Regions from separate parts of the Homo sapiens genome. Here region 2 is linked to region 1. Evidence: promoter capture Hi-C in 16 types of primary human blood cells and fetal thymus (Javierre and others, 2016). All regions are on one chromosome and are shown on one strand. Each heading gives the region's core, a stretch centred on a gene start or on the middle of the fragment in contact. The rest is flanking DNA. Distances are from core to core; before and after follow the strand shown. Region 1 holds the start of SGO1 (shugoshin 1). Region 2 has its middle 220 kb from the start of MIR4791.

Region 1 (4,473 bases), core at 386-2,885:
CTCAAGAAAGTCAAGGTACTCCTTAGAGGTTTAAACTATGTAGCACTACATACAATTTTAATAGGCTATTGTAACAAGTACAGAGCTAGAGCAGGAACTTGGGCAGAGGAACACTCTAGTATTCTCAAACTGTGGCTAAAAGTTAGGGCTGTTAACTCCCAGTAAATTATGAACATAACAAATCAGACATTAAATATTGTTGTACATACAGTTAAACGTTGAGTATTAAATACATAACTATACTTAATCTTTCAACGTTGCAAATCAGGTAGGCTTTAGCATGCTACTAAACATGTCAAACCACTTTTCACAAACATCTTTTACGCTAGATTGCACTTTGCAGATCTTAAAATTGCAAAAAAAAAAGACTTGTTTCCAATAACAATCTATGCACAGAATTTTCACTACAAAGGATATCTTCATCTCCTCTACGATAGTCAAATATTTTCCTAAACCTTACACTTAATCTTGAGTATTTCCTCCAGGCCTTATTTTCCTCTATGCAGTGTCTGGAATCTTAAATATAGGTATTGTAGATACCACTTAAGAACTTTCTTTCTACCAAGGTATATACAATATGTACTGGGAGGTTCCTAGCAGAGATAGGGTAGCTATTTTTAAAAGCACGAACGGTAAAGGGGTTGTTTTACACAATTAAGTTAGAATTGGAGATGTTTGAGAGTCATACAGATTAAGTAACGGATCTAGTTTAGTTAAGGTATTTTAAAGGCAAAGCCTTACCTAAAAAGCTTTCGTTATTACTTTTAATCAAGTTAAAAATCACAAAAGAAACTTGCCATATCAAAAGTTTTATATCCTGTCTAAATAAGGCGATGGTTATTAGCAGGGGGTGTGGTAGACAGAAGGGATGAAAGCAAAGACAGACCACAGCGCGAGATGACGGTCTCAATCTGTACAGTACTCGTGTAAGCGCTCTGGATTTAAAGAACCTAGCATATTTGATCTCCGTCCATAATTCTCCAATTAGTCCTGCTGCGAAGACAGCCAGGTAGGATACTAGTCAGTGCCGGCCTCTCCAGGGTAAGTGAGGAAGAGAATGGCCTGGACAAGGAGGACGTCAACGGTATCACGCTGCACAAAGAACTGCTGTCAATTTTCTTGTGTCCTTACGTTGAGCCAGGCTTTTAGCTATTGTAAAAGCTTTATTTGCACATCACTTAATCTACACAATTTTGCAAAGTAGGAAATTAGGGTCTCCATGGAAGCCGGAACATCTGAAAGCGCAGATCGAGTGGCTGAACGGCGAAAAGCGCGGCGAGTGGGACTCCACGGCCCGAGCTTTCGGCCACCGAATTTAGAATGATACTGAAAACCGAAGGGAAGTCAAACAGGGATCACTACGCCCTTGTTTCGCACCTTAAAACCTACTTCTTCCTCTTTCAGGGACTCCAGGAAGGCCGGGGGGAGGTGGGGCTGGCGGAAGTGGACGCGGCGACCCTCCTGCCGCAGGCGCGTCCAGAACGATACCTTGGCCACTACTTCTGCAACAGCTATCTTCCTCCTCCTCACATTTCAAGGCTCTTCGAAGCTCTCCAGCCACGGCTAGCCCCGCGCACTGGGCCCTCCAGGACCGTACCACCGTCCGCCGTCGCCTGGAACTACCGCCGCCACATTCGAAATTTTCCGCCTCGCTCCTCCATTGGTTGGCTGGGAGGCGGTCACGTGGCGCAGGATGCACCCAACACCACCGTCGCAGGCAGAGTCCCGCCCCGCCAGGCGACGTCACGTGACGCACATTCGCTCAAGTCCACATCCGGGCATCCACCTGGCCCTGGGGCGGAGCCTGCGGTCGGGTCTCGGCGACCCGCCGGGACTTTCTAATCAGAGTCGTGGGGATTTTACGGGTGGAGTTACTCCGAAACCTTTAAGGCCGAGTGTGATAGGTAGTTCAAAGCTTCCTGTTTCTTCAGTCTGACAGCTTCAAATGTCCCGGGTTGTGCTCAAAGCCTCCCTCTTGTGAGAAGAATCTCTTTGGTTGCCTGTTAAAGCGGTCAGCCAGCTTGCAACACGGAAGCAGCTTTTAGAGGAATTAAAACCAAAACAAGGAGCAAATTCTGGATTAAAAAGGTATTAGGGAAACTGCAGATACCTGAAAATTCTAGCTCCATGTTTCTCTTTGCCGGCTATCTCTGGCTCTTTAACTCTTCTCGAGAAATGGCACCAACATCCATCCAGTTACCGACTAGAAGCCTGAGAAATCGTCCTTAATGATTATTTATCCTCTCTTAACCTTTGCCCGTCCAGTCGGTCACACGATCTTCTCAACTCTGCTTTCCAAGTTTCTCTCATGCCCATCTTTTTCCCCCCAATCCAGCTTCCAGCCTAATCTCATTCCCTAAATTGCACTAGTACCCACTCTGACCGCAGACTCCACTCCCTATATTCTTCATAGATTAATATTTTTACAAAACAAGTATCAAATAGGAAACTTTACAATGGCTCCCTATTGCATTTAAGGTGAATTTCAAACTCCTTTAAGATATTTTGTCCTTAAAGAGCCCCATGATTCCTGGTTCCATCACTTGTACATTTTCTTTAATTTTCTTAAAATTCTTGCCACTTTTGCCAATGCTGTTCTGTCAAGAACACTCTTTCCCTTGGCCGAACTTACTCCTATGTATACTGAAGTTTCACTGTACAGATGAATTCTTCCAGAAAGACTTATCTACCCCTAAAGCCCCTGAGTGTCTGCTTTACACTTTCTTAGTGCCCTGCATTTTCCCCTTGGTATTCCTTGTGACACTGACTTGTCGTTCATTGCCTGTTTCTTGAAGTTGAATAAGGGCAGGAACTACATCTGCTTTGTTCATAGCTAAATTGTCAGCATCTCGTTGCAATTTGAAGTAAGTAGTAAATATTCACTGGGACAATAAAGGAACAAATAAATGAAAACGAAACAAATGTTTTGAATCTAGGCATTCTTTATGAAGGTGTGTTGTTGTTTTTTAAAGGTAGCTAACACATGCTTGCTCTAGTCTGGGTACCCATCCTGGCTTGAGTGGAAGAGGCTGAAACACCCTTCTCCAGCCAACAACTCCCTCGTTTTCCAAGTTAACCAGACCAACTCCATTAACCCTCAGTTTACTGCCACTGGGCAATGTGGCTTATATGTGTAGAAGCATCAAGAAGGAATGGGCAGAGAGGTTTTTTGTTGTTTGAGGTCAGAAAATTATGAAGTGGAACATGAGAGCAGAGAATAGGGCCAGCTTCATGAGCAGGCAACCGGTGCTTAGAAGGGCTGTACATTTGGTTTAATGCTCTGCTGTTGCCGTCTTGAAATGCTTAGGAGTTTATATTTGAACTTATGTTTTGTAAGTGATGTCTGATGAGACAATGGAGCAATCTTGTGAGCAGATGTGATTCATGCAATGTGTGTGTCTGTCACTGTTTCTTGCCCCATGTCATACAATGTTCAGGATGCGCACTAAATGGCCTCCATGAACCACTTATTTTGTAGTTAGGGACCTAAGTACAAAGTGCTCAGAAGGGCTCACCCTTGCCCTCTTGAAATTATTATTATTTTCTTTGAGACGGAGTTTTGCTGTGTCTCCCAGGTTGGAGTGCAGTGACATCATCTTAGCTCACTGCAACCTCTGCCTCCCAGGTTCAAGCAGTTCTCCTGCCTCAGCCTCCCAGGTAGCTGGGATTACAGGGACCCACCACTACGCCCCCTAATTTTTGTATTTTTTTGTAGAGACAGAGTTTTGCCATGTTGCCTAGGCTGGTCTCAAACTCCTGAGCTCAAGTGATCTGTCTGCCTCAGCCTTCCAAACTGGGATTACAGGCTAAGCCATCATGCCCAACCACGTTACTATATTTTCTAACCACTTACACTAAAAGTGATGGCATGAAAGGAAAAGGAAAGATAAGACATTCCACAATTCCTTTTCTTTTCAGTCTTTCTCTACTTATCGGTAAGCTGAAGGTTTTTGTCTTGGATTTTGAACAAGGAGCATCATATTTTCATTTCACATTGACCCACACAGATTATATAGCTGGCCCTGACCAAAGGCTTTGAGGTTCTGACTTTTTGAGGGGTGTCTTCCCCGTTCCCAATTTAAAAATGGGTCAGACTTCAAATCAGGTGTTTATTATAGAGCCCTAAAGAATAGAAATGGCTGAATTTAGGGGCAGTGAGGGAAAATACCACCAGAGTCCTAGCATGAGTAACTTTTGTACATCAAAATGTTCTACTGCCGCTGATTTTAGGGAACTGAATTACTGTTGGAATCAATAGCTCTTTTAAAATTTTGTGGAAACTACAACTCTTCCCAGGAAGAATGCACATATTCCTTTTTGAACAAAAATATGCATATTTCAAAGAGTACTAAATGGTGGACTGGAGTTTGAACCCAGGAAGCCTGGCTCCAAAGTCCATGCTATTAACAGCTGGACTATGTTCTGCGACTTCTCCCTTTTGTTATATCACAGTTGTACCCAGCCTAATTCAGA
Region 2 (4,401 bases), core at 1,549-4,048, 650 kb before region 1:
GAGAATTTCAAGTTTTCCTAGATGTTTAATTGTCTAAGCACTGTAGCTACACAAATAGCAAAGGCCCTTGTCTTCTTATCAGGGATGCATTTTTGAGCCCCTACATTTTCTTCACCTACTCACCCTCTGCTGAAGGAAAGCCCCAGGAACCCAGAGGCAACAAAAGCAGTTATTTTCTTGGTCAAGGTAATTTTCTTTAAAATTATATTGAGAATAAATATTTTCTATGCAATTCTAATTAAAACCAGACAGATTATGCAAAACTTCATGTTAATTCAATATAAGAAGAAATTCCTAATAATTCCAGCTACTTACAAATGGAGTTTATTGTTTATCCCCAATAGACAAAGTGTCCTCTCAGAGGCTGTGTGAGTATTTGACAGGAATAGTTTTTCCAGAAGGGCTGTGCATTGGATCTGAAGTTAGCAGAATGCCTACATCACAACCACATGGGGTATATATTTGAAACGCAGATAATCTAGCTTCAAGCCAGCTGCTTTGAATGGGACCTGAAAATCTACCATTTGGTAAACTTCCTGGGTGACTCAAATACACTAAAGGCTGAGAAGTATTGGTCTAGAATCTATAGAAGTACAAGTCTGAGTCCTAGCTAATCTGTATGTAAGTAGACAACCACTGAAATTCTATTAAGGACAGCCCAGAGTCTGTAATTGTATAATAAAGAAGGCTGATTAACTCCTAAATCAGTAGTCCTCCAACTTTAGTTCAAATAATGTACTTCTGGGAGATCTTATTAAAAGAGAGATTTCAGGGCTCCAGCTCCTTAGACATGAGCTAGGTCCCCAAGTGATTCTAATATGTATGTTCCAAGAAATAAACTCTGAAAACATTGTCCTAAGAAGTACAACCTTTCGTTTTATAATGAGCTGGTTCTGTGGGAAGATGGACCAACTAGAATCAAACCAATTAAAACTGACAAGTTTCTTTCTGTACAGTTCCAAATACATCAATGACCTTTTTTTATCAAAGTAACTGATATCTTTTCTCCAAGAGAGCTTTGAACACCCATCAATTACTTCAATGAAAAATGATTGTCTACTATGTGTCTTACACCACTTATACCTCTTGATTTGTTATAGATCTTTGTTTTCTTGTTTCATTTAGATTTTCTAGAAGAAAAAAGAAAAGTGAAAATACCTTCTGAAGTTTCAAAAATTGGTCAGTTATCTGATAGGAATCATATTTGTATGTGAGGCAAGATAACTATTTGGTCAGCAGATGACAGTTGCTGTGGATGTCCCCTATGTGAAATGGAATTGCTAATGTTAAGATTGTGATTTTATTCATAACAATGAAAACAGCCTGCACCAAATAGTTCTTGCTAAAGCTACTTATTCTCATGGCATATATAGCTCATTTTCTAAGGTCATCTTTTTAAGACATTGCTTTTATGTCTTCTTTTTTAAGTATATAGTACTTCAAATGTAGTCTTCTCTTAGATACCATCATCACCGAAAATAGAGCTTGGGTACAAGTGCAGGCATAGGCTCTATTAAGGGCTCTTCCAAAAGGCTTTCCTTTGCCTATTTATTTCACTTTATAGAAAGGCAAATGGTCCAAATAAATATTAAGCTGAGAAAGGAGCAGAAGTTTTGGAAGAACACAAAGGAGTGTTTGCCTCCAACCATTTTTTTCTTGCTCTGTGATATGGACAAGTTATTTAAGACATCTGAGCCTCAATTCCTTCATCTAAAACTTGAAGAATAAAATATATCCAATTTTCAGAGTCTTCGTGAGAATTAATGAAGTAATTTTTGTGAAGGCACACTACCCGACGTACAATAAACGCTAAACAAATGTCAGTTTATCTTCCTGACCTTTCATCCCCTGGTTCCTTTCCTATTTCCCCCTCCTCCCCTCATCTCCTTCTTACCTCTCCTTCCTGATTTTTTCACCTTTCCTTGCCCCCCCTCTCCTCTTCCCCAACTTCTTCCTGGCTCTCCCTTTATCTCCAGCCTCCTCCCACTTACATCCTCTCCATTCTCTCTTTCCCGCTCCCTCCTCTCCCCTTGGCCCTTCCTCATGCTTCCTCCTTTTCCCTCTCACTCAGTGTTCCAGGCCACCTTCTGGAAAATGAGTCCTCTCTTTGACATTTTCTCTGCTTAGGTCACAAAGTAGCTTTCATAATATGTCCCCTACAGTCTATTCATCACAGTGTTAACAATCAAGTCAACATTTACCTTTTTAAAAAAAGTTGTTGAAGAGCCACCAGGGCAGAAAAACATGCTGTTTCTGCCCCCAGCCACCTTATCCCCAACCCGTGTGGCTTCTAATATGTCTATCTGAATTTCAGTGAAGTTTTATTTTGAACTCTTTAATTACAGAAAGATACAGGAAGTTTATTCACTAACACAAATATATTCTACAAACACATACCATTTTTCCCCATAAAGTTTTTCTATAGAGATTTGCTGTTGCTTTAGAAATCACACACATATATGTCACAACCACCATCCCTGGCCACAGAAGACCTGAGCACTATCAGCCAGAAGCCTCAGAGCTTTCTCTGTGGCAAATGTTGTTGCCCTCTTACCCACAGTTCCTCTGGCTAGAAGCAGAGCTTATGAAATGTCTGCCACTTCACACAGATGCCTTCAAAGCTTCCCTTAGTAGCCCACCGTGTGAGTAGGTCTCATCAGAGGGAATAAGCTAAATGTTACTCCCTGCAGCTTGTGTCCTGAAAGAACCTATTCCTTGAGTTGTGTCATTCACCAAGCCCTGAATAAACAGTATAAAAGACATGAGGACAGCACAGTGAGGCAGAGATAGACCAGCACTTACATACCTGTCATTGCAGGTAATTAAATAAGCTGTTCATTCCAGAAAAAAAACAGCTGGTGGGAAAATGTGTCCAAAGGGCAAAACTATGCCTTCTTAAGCTATTTCCTTTTAACTTGGGTTTTTCCTTTATGGAGATAAGAAGCTGGAAATGGGATGGAATTTGACGCTGAAGCTAAGCTTCTGGGTTTTTTTTCACAGTTGGCTTGATAAAAATAGAACATACATATGTGATATATTTGAGTACAACAAAGAATAAAATAAGAGGAAGTGAGACTTAAAAGTGTGTCTGTGCTTTTTATTTTTGTAAAGAACTAATATACTAAGTTGAAGGGACCACTTTCATTTAAGAATTTCCTCCAGGGTAAAGAGTACCCTTTTGCTTTGGCACTTTTACTTGCCATGGTAATTTTTTTTAACCAGTGCTGACTCTGAACTTTATGCTACTCCTGTAGCTTTATTCTTCACTATGGTTTATTTGTCCTGAGAGAGAATTATTTCTGAACTCTGCATGGGGGTCAGTATTAAATGCTAATAAGGAAGGGGCTCAAACTCAGCCACATCTTTTGGGGAACACAGAGCCCTCTGGGTAGCTGCAGCCACATGGCCAACACTCAGCATCTTTGGGGCCCCTTGCTATGATTGGCAGTGATGTCCAGAAGCCCTCAGATGGAAACACAGATTTCCGAAAGTTGCCATGATAACTTATTGACCAAAATGAGTCATAAGAGTTCCTCCTGCTATAATCAGACAACCTGTGGAACCAAATCTAATTGTCAACTCTGGCTTCCAGTACCCCAAAGGTATTTGAGCCCTGGGCCTAGATCACTTAGCATATCTCTTGTTAACTTACACAAAAACCACGTCTACAGAAAAGGGGTAAAGAAGACAACATTTCTCACACTTGGTTCGCAGGGTGTGGTTTGCGGGACAACAGCAGCAGCTTCATCTGGAAGCTTGTTAAAAATGCAAAATCCTGGACCCCCATCTCAGAGCAGTGAATCAGAATCTACATTTTGACAAGATTCTCAGGTAATTTGTGCACATGTTAAAGGCTTAGAAATACCTGAACAAGGCCGGGTGCGGTGGCTCACACCTGTAATCCCAGCACTTTGGGAGGCTGAGGTGGGTGTATCACGAGGTCAAGAGATGGAGACCATCCTGGCTAACATGCTGAAACCCCGTCTCTACTAAAAATACAAAAATTAACCACGCATGGTGGCGGGCGCCTGTAGTCCCAGCTACTTGGGAGGCTGAGTCAGGAGAATCGCTTAAACCCAGGAGGCAGAGATTGCAGTGAGCAGAGATCACGCCACTGCACTCCAGCCTGGAGACAGGGCAAGACTCTGTCTGAAAAAAAAAAGAAAGAAAGAAAGAAAAAAGAAAAGAAAAAGAAAAAAAGAAATACCCAAACACTGGTTCTTGACTCTGGCTACCCATTAGAATTACCTATGTTGCTTTTAAAAAACAGATTCCTGGCTCTAACCACAAAGAGTTTGATTTAGTTTGTGTGGGTAGCACACATACAGAATCAGAAACTCTGGGGGTAGGGCCCAGCAACCTGTGGTGCTTCTGATACCAGCTAAAGTTCGAGAACTACTG

What was found. Contacts are between HindIII fragments. The CHiCAGO score rates a contact against its expected background, and 5 or more counts as called.
Region 2: a fragment that was not itself captured here is called in contact with the fragment with the promoter of SGO1 in region 1 in 1 of 17 cell types (total B cells); the score reaches 7.2 in total B cells.

Annotation. Positions count from the first base shown.
Region 1 is chr3:20,184,571-20,189,043 of GRCh38, forward strand. SGO1 (shugoshin 1) reads right to left here and starts at 1,636. Exons shown (of 8, transcript NM_001199251.3): 1 at 1,378-1,636. It overlaps SGO1-AS1 (SGO1 antisense RNA 1), which reads left to right. Exons shown (of 4, transcript NR_132785.1): 4 at 1,405-1,545. RefSeq lists enhancers at 1,354-2,033, 2,054-2,113. The HindIII fragment of the contact is 754 bases long and covers 1,160-1,913 here.
Region 2 is chr3:19,537,150-19,541,550 of GRCh38, forward strand. No RefSeq gene overlaps it. Among named protein-coding and RNA genes, the nearest start is that of MIR4791, 220 kb to the left of the region's middle. RefSeq lists an enhancer at 3,555-3,664 and a silencer at 4,278-4,401. The HindIII fragment of the contact is 358 bases long and covers 2,620-2,977 here.